4 separate regions of the Homo sapiens genome follow, and all the other regions are linked to region 3. The links are contacts of gene promoters, found by promoter capture Hi-C in blood cells and fetal thymus (Javierre and others, 2016). All regions are on one chromosome and are shown on one strand. The core of a region is centred on a gene start or on the middle of the fragment in contact, and the rest is flanking DNA. Distances in the headings are between cores, read along the strand shown. Region 1 holds the start of GLA (galactosidase alpha). Region 2 overlaps BTK (Bruton tyrosine kinase). Region 3 holds the start of CSTF2 (cleavage stimulation factor subunit 2). Region 4 has its middle 8.0 kb from the start of TIMM8A.

Evidence for each region. The method cuts DNA at HindIII sites, captures the fragments that hold promoters and counts their contacts. A CHiCAGO score of 5 or more calls a contact.
Region 1: the fragment with the promoter of GLA here is called in contact with the fragment with the promoter of CSTF2 in region 3 in 2 of 17 cell types (non-activated CD4 T cells and total CD8 T cells); the score reaches 7.9 in non-activated CD4 T cells.
Region 2: a fragment that was not itself captured here is called in contact with the fragment with the promoter of CSTF2 in region 3 in 1 of 17 cell types (total B cells); the score reaches 6.8 in total B cells.
Region 4: a fragment that was not itself captured here is called in contact with the fragment with the promoter of CSTF2 in region 3 in 1 of 17 cell types (naive CD4 T cells); the score reaches 5.5 in naive CD4 T cells.

Annotation. Positions count from the first base shown.
Region 1 is chrX:101,406,317-101,409,419 of GRCh38, forward strand. It overlaps GLA (galactosidase alpha), which reads right to left and starts at 1,609. Exons shown (of 7, transcript NM_000169.3): 1 at 1,394-1,609. The coding sequence starts at 1,587. All of the region lies in intron 3 of RPL36A-HNRNPH2 (RPL36A-HNRNPH2 readthrough), which reads left to right. It overlaps HNRNPH2 (heterogeneous nuclear ribonucleoprotein H2), which reads left to right and starts at 1,906. Exons shown (of 2, transcript NM_019597.5): 1 at 1,906-2,003. The HindIII fragment of the contact is 11,084 bases long and covers 1-3,103 here.
Region 2 is chrX:101,365,888-101,368,908 of GRCh38, forward strand. All of the region lies in intron 5 of BTK (Bruton tyrosine kinase), which reads right to left. Among named protein-coding and RNA genes, the nearest start is that of TIMM8A, 19 kb to the left of the region's middle. The HindIII fragment of the contact is 4,043 bases long and covers 1-3,021 here.
Region 3 is chrX:100,818,487-100,822,001 of GRCh38, forward strand. CSTF2 (cleavage stimulation factor subunit 2) reads left to right here and starts at 1,905. Exons shown (of 14, transcript NM_001325.3): 1 at 1,905-1,988; 2 at 3,041-3,119. The coding sequence starts at 1,931. RefSeq lists enhancers at 1,577-1,636, 1,647-1,696, 1,977-2,136. The HindIII fragment of the contact is 13,366 bases long and covers 1-2,011 here.
Region 4 is chrX:101,339,123-101,342,388 of GRCh38, forward strand. It overlaps the pseudogene RPL21P132. Among named protein-coding and RNA genes, the nearest start is that of TIMM8A, 8.0 kb to the right of the region's middle. The HindIII fragment of the contact is 3,616 bases long and covers 1-3,196 here.

The DNA.
Region 1 (3,103 bases), core at 359-2,858, 590 kb after region 3:
CAAACATGACATAAACATGATCCATTTTTTATGGAAAATAATGAAATAAAGAAATCTATGTTTTCATTTATATAGAAAACAATTGTAAGGTTGTATATTAACATTTAAACCATGATTATTTCTGGGTGGTGGAACGGTGGGGGGAAATCTTTATTTTCATTTTGCTCTTCTTTATCTACATTTTTTGCAATGATCATGCATTAGTTTTATAATCAGATGCAAATACCAATAAAAAAAAATCCGTGATGGGCAAAATTGCCACACATACTGTACCACAGGGTCACATGAAACTTACAAGGCCAATTTCTTCTGTGATGTCTGACCAACATCCTGACTTTATCTATAAAGATATTCATAGGAATAACTTATGGACACAGAAATGTACTGTGACTGCCACCTTTTACCAACATCTATCAGTGATTCCTAACCTTTTTTAAATCACAGAGCCCTTTGAGAATTTGAAGAAAGGTAAATATCCTCTCTCCAGAAAAATACACATATTCATTCAGATTTGTAGATTTACATTCATTTTCCCATTGAACATTTGCTCTGTAAGCGCAGTTGAATGGTCAAGCGCTGTGCTATGTACTTTAAATAGGTTATCTCCTTGAAAACTCACCTGTGTGAGATAAGAACTATTTTTCAGATTTTTTTTGTCAGCTCCCTGAAATTAAAAGGTTGTAATCCCAATTTACAGATAAGGATTGTGAGGGTCAGATATGTTCAATACCTATCTAATCCAGCCTCAACCCTCACGCAAAGGTGTAAATGTATAAAGTTCCTCCATGTCAACCTTCCAGCCTGATGCCACGCTCATGGGCGAGGTGGGAGAGATCTCAGCGACCTTATGGTCTCTCTAACTCCCTCGAGATACTGCCGAGAAATCCACGACCCCAAAAGGAGAAAAAATGGCACGAATCTTAGTTCCCCATTCCTCCTACCCACCCTAGATGTTCTAACGGTTAGCACCCGGCAGAGGAAGAGCAGAAGTTCACAAGAAGGGTCTGAATAGAACCGGGCAGGGCTACTTTGGGCACACTGCCTATGGGGTGGCCCTGCTCTGCAAGGAGCAGTGAAAAAAGAGAACCGGGCAGGGAGAGAGAGAAAGAGAGAGGAAAGAAGAGAAAGAGAAAGAGAAGGAGAACGAGAGAGAGAGAGAGAGAGAAAGAAACAGGGGCCGCTGGCCGGACTCCCATCCCAGGAAAGGTCACACAGAGAAAGTTTAGGGCTAGTCCTGATTCGGGACAGTTTGCTGGGGATAAAAAAGCAGCAGCAGAGTCGGGTGGGGGAGCTCTCCCTCGGGCTCAACTGTTCCCGTTGAGACTCTCCAGTTCCCCAAACACACCCAAACACATGGAAAAGCAAAGGGAAGGGAGTACCCAATATCTGATACCTGATGCAGGAATCTGGCTCTTCCTGGCAGTCAAGGTTGCACATGAAGCGCTCCCAGTGCAGCCAGCCCATGGTAGGCGTCCTTGCCAATCCATTGTCCAGTGCTCTAGCCCCAGGGATGTCCCAGGAAACGAGGGCCAGGAAGCGAAGCGCAAGCGCGCAGCCCAGATGTAGTTCTGGGTTCCTCAGCTGCATTGTCACGGTGACCGGACAGCATAAATTTCCGCGGGTAACCTGGGCTTTTAAGATTAACCTCAGGGGCGGACCAATCACCGATGACTTATTAAATAATGACGTTATTGTTTCTCTGGCAACTGGGACGGTTATCCCCAGAGGTAGACCAATAATCAGTCACGTAAGACGTTCCGCTAACCAATCACCCTCTTCCTTTCTTGATATTGACCCGCCCTATTTCCATACCAGAAGGAAGTGCGGCACCTTAGTGATCCCGAGTTTAAGCCGAGAGTTGCTCACGTGACCGAGATCTCACATGACGTAGGCGCTCACGTGATTACTCGCTTACGTGAGCAGAAGTAGTTCTGGTCGTCGTCTACCGTCTCGCTATAGCCGTTTGAGGGAAGAAGGAGGAAAATTACCCGGTATCGTTAGAGGTTGGTGTGTGGGTGGGAACTGGGGACCCAGGGGTGGTGATGATGAAGACCAGAGCGGGGTTCGGGGGCCGCCTCCGCCTCTTTCGTTCTCTGCTTTCCCCTCCCCCCTCGCGCTCTCTCCCTCCTCCCCCCCATCTCAGTGCCGGGAAGCCGCCTGTGCTGCGCCTGGTGGGGAAATGGTGGACGCTCATGACTGTGTATGTGTTTTTGTATATCTGTCTGTCTGGGCCGGTCTCGGGGGACCCCTAAGGGTGACCGTAAGGCGAAAAACGTTTGAAAACCACGGCCCTGAGTTAAGAAAAACAGATACTGAAAATAGTGGTCTGAGTGCTGGTCTATCCATTCAGGCACTCAGTCTCCACTGCCTGATTGTCTGTAAGGGGAGGCCCCAAGTGAATTTTATCTGTAGAGTCACATCTAGGCAAATGCGTGCTTGACAAAGGCGCCCAATAAATTACTTTACTGAATAGAGTATTTGAATAATGTTTATTTTTCTGCTGATAACAACAATCTACATATTCAATTTCGAACATTTGAAAAATAACAATATAGTATAAAATTTAAAAATACACATAATTCACCACCCGGAGACGACTGCTCAACCTGATGTCGTTACAGTTTTTTAAAAAATGTGTATAACACACATATAAATACACAAATTCTTAACTCACAAAGAGTCCTGGTTCCCACTTTAGCCAGCAGTCCTGATGGCCTTCCCAGGAGACGCAGTAATGAAGTAGAACCTCTCTGCCCCTACAGAAGGGCTCTTAAGGAATAGAGCGGTGCAGGGAATTAAATGGGACGGGTTATCCCAGGGATAAGGCAAGCAAAAAAAAAAAAAAAAATCCTGCAAAATGAAATAAAAAAACAGCTTGTAAATCTGTCACTGAGACCTTAGGATGGTTAATAGGAAAACTGTTATCACTGCAGATGCAGTGTGCTAGGCACATAATCGGCAATCAGTAAATGTTTGTTAAATCGTTTCCTCAGTGTAGTTTTATGGCCGTTATTACACTTTGTACTTTGTTTCCAAGAGGCCCAGTGCTCCCAGACCATTTCAGATAAACCATCCACATACAAAATTAGAAAATTTTATAAAA
Region 2 (3,021 bases), core at 206-2,705, 550 kb after region 3:
AGAGAGAGTCTGTGGCTAAGCCCACAGGAATACAACCTTTGCATGGCAAGCACCATTGAGAAAATGTGGCAGCTGGATATGAGGTATCTGAGGCTATGCTTTTAAAATTGAGGTATAGGCCTGGTGCAGTGGCTCACGCCTTGGGAGGCTGAGGTGGGCAGATCACTTGAGGTCAGGCATTTGAGACCAGCCTGGCTAACATGGTGAAATCCCGTCTCTACCAAAAATACAAAAATTAGCTGGGCGTGGTGGTGAGCGCCTGTAATCCCAGCTACTTGGGAGGCTGAGGCAGGAGAATCGCTTGAACGCAGGAGGCAGAGTTTGCAGTGAGCCGAGATTGTGCCACTGCACTCCAGCCTGCACGATAGAGCAAGACTCTCTCTCTCAAAATAAAAAAAAATAAATAAATAAAATTGAGGTATAATTTACATATAATAAAGTGCACAGATTTAATGTGTACAGCAAACCATATTTTTCCACACCCATTTAACCTCCTTGAGATCCAGCACCTCATGCCTCTTCAGTCAATATCCCTGCAAAGGTAACCAGTATTCTCATGAGGTCCCCTTTTCATGTCAATGATTTCTTATTGGTGCATTTTACCCAAGAGTAGGATAATAAAAACATAAAAACAAACAAGAAAAAAACAAAAAGAGTGGAATAATATCATTATTTTGTGGCTCCTAGGCTAACTCACTATTGACATTGGCAGCACCTGGGACTGTCCTGGGATTGTTAGGACTTGCACCTAAATCTCCCAGCAATCATGGTATTTGTCAGAAGGTGCCTACTTTTTGGCTCTTGTTGTTAGCCCAGGACGGTTCAACAAGACTATACCCAGGTGGAACTACTGGGAAAAAAAATGCCTTTGGTGAAACATAAGGGAAGAGAAGGCAAAGATGTGCCTAGCCACACTCCCTGATCACACTGATGACCCAGCTGAAGTGATGGTGTTTCTGTTTATTTATTTTGGCTTTATTTTTAGCCTGTTGTGAATTTACTTAGCTAATGAACCTTAAAAGCAGCACATAATCAAGATTGTAAGGTTAACATCTGAGTTAGGAAACCAAGCTCGGCTGGGCATAGTGGCTTACGCCTGTAATCTCAGCACATTGGGAGGCCGAGGCAGGTGGATCACCTGAGGTCAGGAGTTCAAGACCAGCCTGGCCAACATGATGAAACCCTGTCTCTACCAAAGATACAAAAATTAGCCGGGCATGATGGTGCACGCCTGTAGTCCCAGCTACTCGGGAGGCTGAGGGAGGAGAATTGCTTGAACCTAGGAGGCGGCGGTTGCAGTGAGCCAACATCACGTCACTCTACTCCAGCCTGGGCAACAGAGTGAGACTCCATATCAAGAAAAAAAAAAAAGAAAAAAAGAAAGCTCACAAGCTCACAAGCTGGATATCCTTATCTTCGGTCATTACTCACCCTTAAATATAGTGGACATTCAATAAATATTTGTTGGGCCAGGTGTGGTGGCTCATGCTTTAATCCCAGCAGTTTGGGAGGCAGAGGCGGGTGGATCACCTGAGGTCAGGAGTTTGAGACGAGCCTGGCCAACATGGTGAAACCCTGTCGCTACTAAAAATACAAAAATTAGCTGGGCATGGTGGCAGGCGCCTGTCATCCCAACTACTCGGGAGGCTGAGGTAGGAGAATCGCTTGAACTCGGGAGGCGGAGGTTGCAGTGAGCCGAGATCGTGCCATTGCACTCCAGCCTGGGTGACAAGAGCGAAACTCCATCTCAAAATAAATAAATAAATAAATAAATAAATAAATAAATAAATAAATAAATATTTGTTGGACTAAACTATGACTGGTTTTGAAATTAGTATATGAAGTGTAAAGAAGTTACCAACTTGAGCATGCCAGTTTCTCCCTTATTTCTCCTTCAGCTAGTCTGCCTTGCATTCCCCCATTTCCAGACTAAAACCTAGCCATTTATCGATGTGGAGCCCAAGCTGGTGATGGTTGTTTATTCCCACAGATAAATCAGTTAACACAACTACTGATCCCTTTCTGTGTGCAAGGCGCTGTATGAGGCATTGTGGAGAGAACTAAAGAAGTACAAGTATACATGTCCTGCAGAGCTCTTATCCCAGTCTCTGCAAATATTTCTGTGGCTGGAGATAGTATATTGGTTCAGGACATGGAGTCTGGGGCCTGAATTCAAAGCCTGACCCTGCCATTTACCAACCGAGGGCCTTTGGGCAAGTTACTTAACCTCTCTGTACCTCAGCTTTCTTATCTGTAAAATGGGGATGACAAGATAACTGCCTCATATGGTTAATACAAAGTTAATATATGTAAAGAACTTAAAGAAGAGCCTGTATCACAATAAGCAGTATTAAAGAGTTTGCTCATTTTGTAGCCCCAGGGCTAAAGCAGACCCCTTATCTTAAAATATGCCAAGAACTGAACTGTGTATTGCAGGATATCACCTATTTGTAATATTCAACATAGCTTTACTATAGAATATTTTGCAACCAACTACATGTGAAATTTCTGGACTTGGAAACCAAGCAGCGCAAAACTATGCAATGAGCTTGGGCTTTGGAGTCATACAGACACAGGGATGTGATAAGAATCCAGGCTCCACCATTCACTGTGTGCCCATGAGCAAGTTGCATAACATCTTTGAGCTTCAGTTTCCTCATCTGTAAATAGGGGAATAATACATACTTCTTAAGGCTACTGCAAAGATCAAATAAGTAATACATTTGAAGCACTTGGGACAGAGCCTGCTACATAGTAAGTGCTCATTAAGTGTTAGTTATCATTGTTGTTGTTTTTAGGCCAAGGTTGTTGTGAAAATTAAATGAGATAATATATAAAAGGTATTTAGCTCAATATCTGGCACATAGCAATAATTGAATAGATGATCCTTCATCTTCGTTCCTCCTGTTCCCTTTCAGTTTGAAAGACTTGGCTAATATAATTTTGACCAACCAAACTTGCATTCAAGGGAGTGTACAAGGCTGGTATAGCCAGCCAGTGAGTATCAGAATCTAAATGTTT
Region 3 (3,515 bases), core at 655-3,154:
GGGGAGAGACATTATTGGCATTCAGTGGGGGGAGGGGTTCATCCTGTAGAACTGCCTTGGACATGGCAGTCCATTTATCATCTCTGGCTTCTCTTCCCCTAGCAGTAGTCATTGCAACAACTGAAAATGCCACTGTACATTTCCAAAAATGCTCCTCCACAAGGGTTGAGAACTTTGAGAACTACTTTAAGGGAAATTTCATAAGAAAGCATGCGTGTCTTAAATGCTGCCATAAAGCTACCTCAATAACTACAATGCTACTCAAATTACCTGACCCTAAGAATCGCCAGTGGCACTTGTTTAAATATAACGATTCCCAAGTTCTTTCCCTGGAGTCCCATTCCATAGGGCTGGGGTGGAGCCCCAGGAATCTATACTCTTACTCAAAGACCCCAGGTTAATCTTTTGTTTATGTAAGTTTGCCAAACACTGAGTTAGAAATATACTCAGCCGTACATGCATTTAGCAAAAGTTCACCACAACGGAACAATGACACACCAAAACTCTTTGAAACTGTGCCTTCTACAGAGCTGTAAATCTCCTTTTGGACCATTCCATTACACAAGGTGTCCTCTTGGTCACACAGTGATTGCAAATGGGACTCTAGAGTCATGGAAATGGGTATACTCTTCTCAAACTTTCCATCTTTACCAGAATTACTTCTTAAAGTGATATGCTTCATGGTGTAAACTAGCACTTATTAATTTTTTCTAAATATTTATCATATTTCATATACTTTTATTTTGGAGATGGAGTTTCGCTCTTGTTGCCCAGGCTGGAGCGCAATGGCAGATCTCGGATCACCGCAACATCCATCTCCCGGGTTCAAGCGATTCTCTGGCCTCAGCCTCCTGAGCAGCTGGGATTACAGGCATGCGCCACCACGCCCGGCTAATTTTGTATTTTTAGTAGAAAAGGGGTTCTCCATGTTGGCCAGGCTGGTCTCCAACTCCCGACCTCAGGTGATGCGCCCGCCTCGGCCTCCCAAAGTGTTGGCATTACAGGCATGAGCCACCGCGCCCGGCCCATATACTTTTAATACATGTGGAATTAATAAAAACGTCCATGCCTCCAATTCCGTGGCTATTTTACCGTCTTCCTTTTTCGGACAAGTCCCTCAAAGGTAGCGCTCTTGGCTCCTTCCTTTGCTTATCCCCTAACCCTGTCCTCCTGAGGTGCCCCCTGGATTTCCTCCAACCCCGGCAGGGTCTGCCTTTCCGGGATGATACAACGACCTGCCCTGCATGCCATATCCCAGGCGCGTGGGCACCAAAGTGTGGAAAAACCGATGAATGACGTTTTCTGTTTCCGATACTCTGCCTGCCAGAATCCCCTGCCGCACCGCCCCACCACGAAGCACATGGAACCCACGGACTACACGAGGACAGAGGTCTGTTCTCCCTTTACCTCTCCCATTTCTTTAACTATGCTTCTCTCGGCTGGCATGCCCTTTCCTCATCTCACTCCACACACGAACAGGTTTAGCAAATAATATGCACGCTGCTGGGACGGGCCCAAGCATTTCCCTCCCTTGATAGGGCGGAACTAAAATGCAAGCCCCACAGTTGTCAGCAAAGGACTTCCCTGTTACCATGGTAAAGCCGCTGCGCCTTTATTGTGGTTGAGGAGTACTTGCATCAACCTAAGAGAAAATTAATAAGAAGGAAGTCTGCAGGCTGAAACCCTTCAAATTAGCCTGGACTCGCCTGCATCTGGCTCGGAACAGAGTTAATCTCAGGAGTGAGAATATAGCCCTCCGGTGGACGCAACTCGCGCCTGCGGCTAACAGAATGTCTCCAGGGGAGGGGCTCTGCGTCCGTTCCGCCCAGGCCCTTCCGGCTCACGCGCCGTACGGAAGCGTGCTCAGCGCTGGGCTTGTGCTCCGTACGGAAGTGTGCTTTGGCGCACCGGAAGCCGACTCAACAGAGCTATGGCGGGTTTGACTGTGAGAGACCCAGCGGTGGATCGTTCTCTACGTTCTGTGTTCGGTGAGAGGAATTCGTTGTAGTCAAGCTTCGGGGAGGGACTCCCCTCTGCACCTTCTATCTCATGAATCGCTACCGGAGCCGCTGACGGTTCGGACGTGCAGTTCTCCCTGCTTATCCTGTAGGGCGTCCAACCTGGTGGACTCATGAGCAAAGAGATATTCCCATTCTGCCGAGGTCTCGTAGGCTTTCCGCAATATCAGTGGGGAAGTTAGACTAGCGTTCAGCTTCTGTGCGTTTCTCCTTTCATGAGCTTCAATTATTCTCTAGAGGAGAAGGCTCACGGTAACAGCTCCTCACTGTCCCGTACTACTTCTCATCCTCTGCCCCAGAATACAGACTATATGCTGAGGGTATAGATCCTAGTGTCCACTTACTGTCCTCTCCTAAGGACTTTCATCCTTTGCTTTTTATCTGTAACATTTTAGTGCATCAATAGTGGTAGCGGCCACCTGGTGTCCTGAGATGGCTTGTAAGTGAATGAATGAATGAACTATTAAGATCTCCTCAGAGGAATTTTAAAAAGGATCGAAACGATTCTGAATTATCTTTTTGGCTGAAATAAGTTGTTTTTAAAAATACGTGTGATTATTTTAGAGTACCATTTGAAAGGGACATGACAAAGTAGTTCAGAATACTTTTTAAACATCTTTCACTACATTCATCGTCATTCTCCCTTAAATGTTGTATGTGTGGAAATACATAGGAACCTGTTTTAAAAATTATATTAAATAACATTGATATTTTTTGTAGTCACTGATGAGACTTGCAGATCTTTAGGTAAATACCAGTGCCAAAGTATTTATTTGCACCAAAGTTAAGGAAAATCTAACACGTGTCAGATCAGTCTGAGAACTAACATTTGAGAGTACCTACACATTTTGTATTTAGTTTCAGTGGTATATTTCCTTTGTTAAGAGGTCTGAAGAAATACAATGGAATTGGGATTGGAGAACACTATTTTGAGTCTTATATTTGATGATATAAGTTTACTTTCTCACTAAAGATCTATGTTATAAACTCAGAATTTTAATGTTACCTATTTTCTTCCTTAGTGGGGAACATTCCTTATGAAGCTACTGAAGAGCAGTTGAAGGACATCTTTTCTGAGGTTGGACCTGTTGTTAGTTTCAGGTGAGATCCCCTTTTCCTTCATGGTGGGAGCTTCTTAAAAATCACCACAGATTTGGCTCTTAGTAATAATGGCAGGTTTTCTTTACTGGTGACTTTTCACATACATTTTGTTCTTGTAACAGCTTTATTGAGATATAATTGATACACTATACAATTGACATTTATTCTTACCTAAAATATGTTTTTTTCGTTAAAAATGTTTTTTAGGCAGGGCATAGTGACTCAAGCCTGTAATCCCAGCACTTTGGGAGGCCGAGGCAGGCGGATCACCTGGGGTCAGGAGTTCGAGACCAGCCTGACCAATGTGGTGAAACCTTGTCTCTACTAAAAATACAAAAATTAGCCGCCGTGGTGGCCCATGCCTGTAGTCCCAGCTACTCAGGAGGCTGAGACAGG
Region 4 (3,266 bases), core at 139-2,638, 520 kb after region 3:
GTGAGTTATAATTTATCTATTTTTCAATATTTTTTCAACTCCTGTAATGTTCCGGGAAAAAGTTAACTATTCAAGAATACATAAAAGCCTGTATATGGAACTTGTATTTTGCCTTTTGCCTCAGGCTCCGATATGGTTGGTTCAGTATGGCACTGTTACTGGTCCTGTCTTTATTAAAAATATTGATATTTTGTTCATTATGGACTTTTGCATTAATTTGATTTTTAAAATATTTCATTAAAACATCTTTCCTCAGGCCAGGCGTGGTGACTCACGCCTGTAATTCCAGCACTTTGGGAGGACGAGGTGGGCGGATCACGAGGTCAGGAGATTGAGACCATCCTGGCCAACACGGTGAAACCCCGTCTCTACTAAAAAATACAAAAAAATTAGCCAGGCATGGTGGTGGGTGCCTGTAGTCCCAGCTACTCGGGAGGCTGAGGCAGGAGAATGGCGTGAACCCGGGAGGCAGAGCTTGCAGTGAGCTGAGAACGTGCCACTGCATCCCAGCCTAGGCGACAGAGCGAGACTGCGTCTCAAAAAACAAACAAAACAAAAAAAAAACCAAACAAACAAAAAATTATTCCTCTTGATAACTGAATTTTTTGGTACCCCCTTAAATTTTGCACATGAAACAAGTGCCTCATTCACCCTACCCTATTCCCAGCCCTGCTAGAGGTCCTTAGATGTAAATAACCTATTTGATATGCCAGTGTTGTGTGGGAAGTATAATTCTTTTTTTAAAAAAGAGCTTCCTTTTGGCCGGAACTGCCATCTTTCAGTAATTTGCCAAAATGACGAACACAAAGGGTAAGAGGCGAGGCACCAGATAGATGTTCTCTAGGCCTTTCAGAAAATGGCTGAGGTGGGAGGATCACTTGAGGTCAGGAGTTCGAGACCAGCCTGGCCAACATGGCAAAACCCCATCTCTACTAAAAATGCAAAAATTAGCTGGGCGTGGTGGCAGATGCCTGTAATCCCAACTACTCGGGAGGCTGAGGCAGGAGAATCACTTGAACCCAGGAGGTAGAGGTTGTAGTGAGCCAAGATCACGCCACTGCACTCCAGCCTGGGCAACAGAGCAAGACTCTGTCTCAAAAAAAAAGAAAACACAGAGTTGTTCCTTTGGCCATGTACACACAAATCTATAAGAAAGACGATATTATTAGCCGGGCGTGGTGGTGCGTGCCTGTAGTCCCAGCTACTCAGGAGGCTGAGGCAGGAGAATCACTGGAACCTGGGAGGTGGAATTTGCAGTGAGCCGAGATCTCACTACTGCACTCCAGCCTGGACAACAGAGTGAGACTCTGTCTCAAAAAAAAAAAATATATATATATATATATATATCTTTTCTATATATATAGAGAGAAAAATATGTGTTCATTATGGACTATATATATTTCTATATCTATTTATATATATATTCTATATATAGAGAAAAAATATATATATACACACACATATAGAGACATCGAGGGAATGTGTACTATTCAAAAAGGAATGTCCCATAAGTGTTACCATGGCAAAACTGTGTCTACACTGTTAACCAGCATGCTGTTGGCATTGTTGTAAACAAAGAAGCTAAGGGCAAGATTCTTGCCAAGAGAATTAATGTGCGGATTGAGTACATTAAGCACTCTAAGAGCCAAGATAGCTTCCTGAAACGCATGAGGGAAAATGATCAGAAAAAGGAAGCCAAAAAGAGAGGTACCTGGGTTCAACTCAAGTGCCAGGCTGCTCCACCCAGAGAAGTGTACTTTGTGAGAACCAATGGAAAGGAGTCTGGGCTGCTGGAACCTATCCCCTATGAATTCAAGCATAATAGGTGCAAAAACATAAAAGACCTCTGGACTGTAAAAATGTTTCTCTTCATTAAGTAGAAGTGTGCTGTCCCCTCCCCCTAATAAAAATTAAAACAAATTTTAAAAGTGTCCTAATTCATTGTGTAATGTCTTTATTATTCAAATTTAATGTATTTCTTGCTGAAAGATGTGAGGTGGCTTATTGTGCAACAAATTACTCAATTGGCTAGAAATGGCCAGATATTATTTATGAAATATTTGTACTTGTTTGAAGATAGTCAGGCCAGGCATGGTGGCTCATGCCTGTAATCCCAGTTACTCGGGAGGCTGAGGCAGGAGAATCGCATGAACCCGGGAGACAGAGGTTGCAGTGAGCCAAGATCACGCCATTGCACTCCAGCCTGGGCAACAAGAGCAAAACTCCGTCTCAAAAAAAAAAAAAGAAAAAAAGTCCATTTAAATCATCATGGAAGAAATAAAATAATTTACAAAAGTTAAAAAAAGAAAAAAGAATCTATTTGAGACTAGGGGATATCTGAAAGTACTGTAGTTGAAATATAAGTTTTTTATTCCTAAAAGTGGTTTCTATCACACATCCCCACTTTTTAGTACAGAGTTTATAGTGCTGAAATGGAGAGAAATTTTGTTATTTTTTAAAATAATATGTATTTTTCTGAATAGGTAATTCATTCACATGATTCAAAACTCAAAAGGCATAAAGAAAAGATAAATGGCAAAAAGTCTCCCACCCCTACTCCCCAACCACCCAGTTCTTTTCCCCAGAGGCAATCAATATTAACAATATCCTTCAAGAGTTAATTAATGCTTATTCAAGCAAATATGCATACATATATTTTAATCCCCCCCCCTTTTTACACAAATGGTAGTCTTTAATCTTGCTTTTTAACTTTAACAATATGTATTGGAGCTCATTCCATAACAATTTATAAAGAAGTTTGTGATGGTTAATAATGAGTGTCAACCTGATTGGATTGAAGGATACAAAGTATTGATCCTGGGTGTGTCTGTGAGGGTGTTGAGTCAGTGGGCTGCTATTCCTTGAAAATGGCAAGTGAGTCATGGCAGTACTCGGGAAAAGTACATACTACATGGAAATGACTGCACTCCAGCCTTGGAAACAGAGCGAGATCTCATCTTAAAAAAAAAAAAAGGTATTACAATGGGGAAAAATTGGTTTTTAAGAAAAGGACCATCGATTGTTTTCCATTATTCCATGTAAAGACTATTTTACATGGAGTTCATTGATTTGTTAACTTTAGAATTCAAATTCCTTATGGAGTTTATTGTAAATAAAGAGCAAGTTTTTGCTTGATTTCCTTCTGTTATCCCTAATACATAGACTCACTTTCAGAGTGTGCTTGGTAAAACCTGGAAGCTTGAAGATGAGCCTTAGGCATCACTGGCAGTGCAGGTGGGTGACAACACAACAGTAGGAAGGCTTCC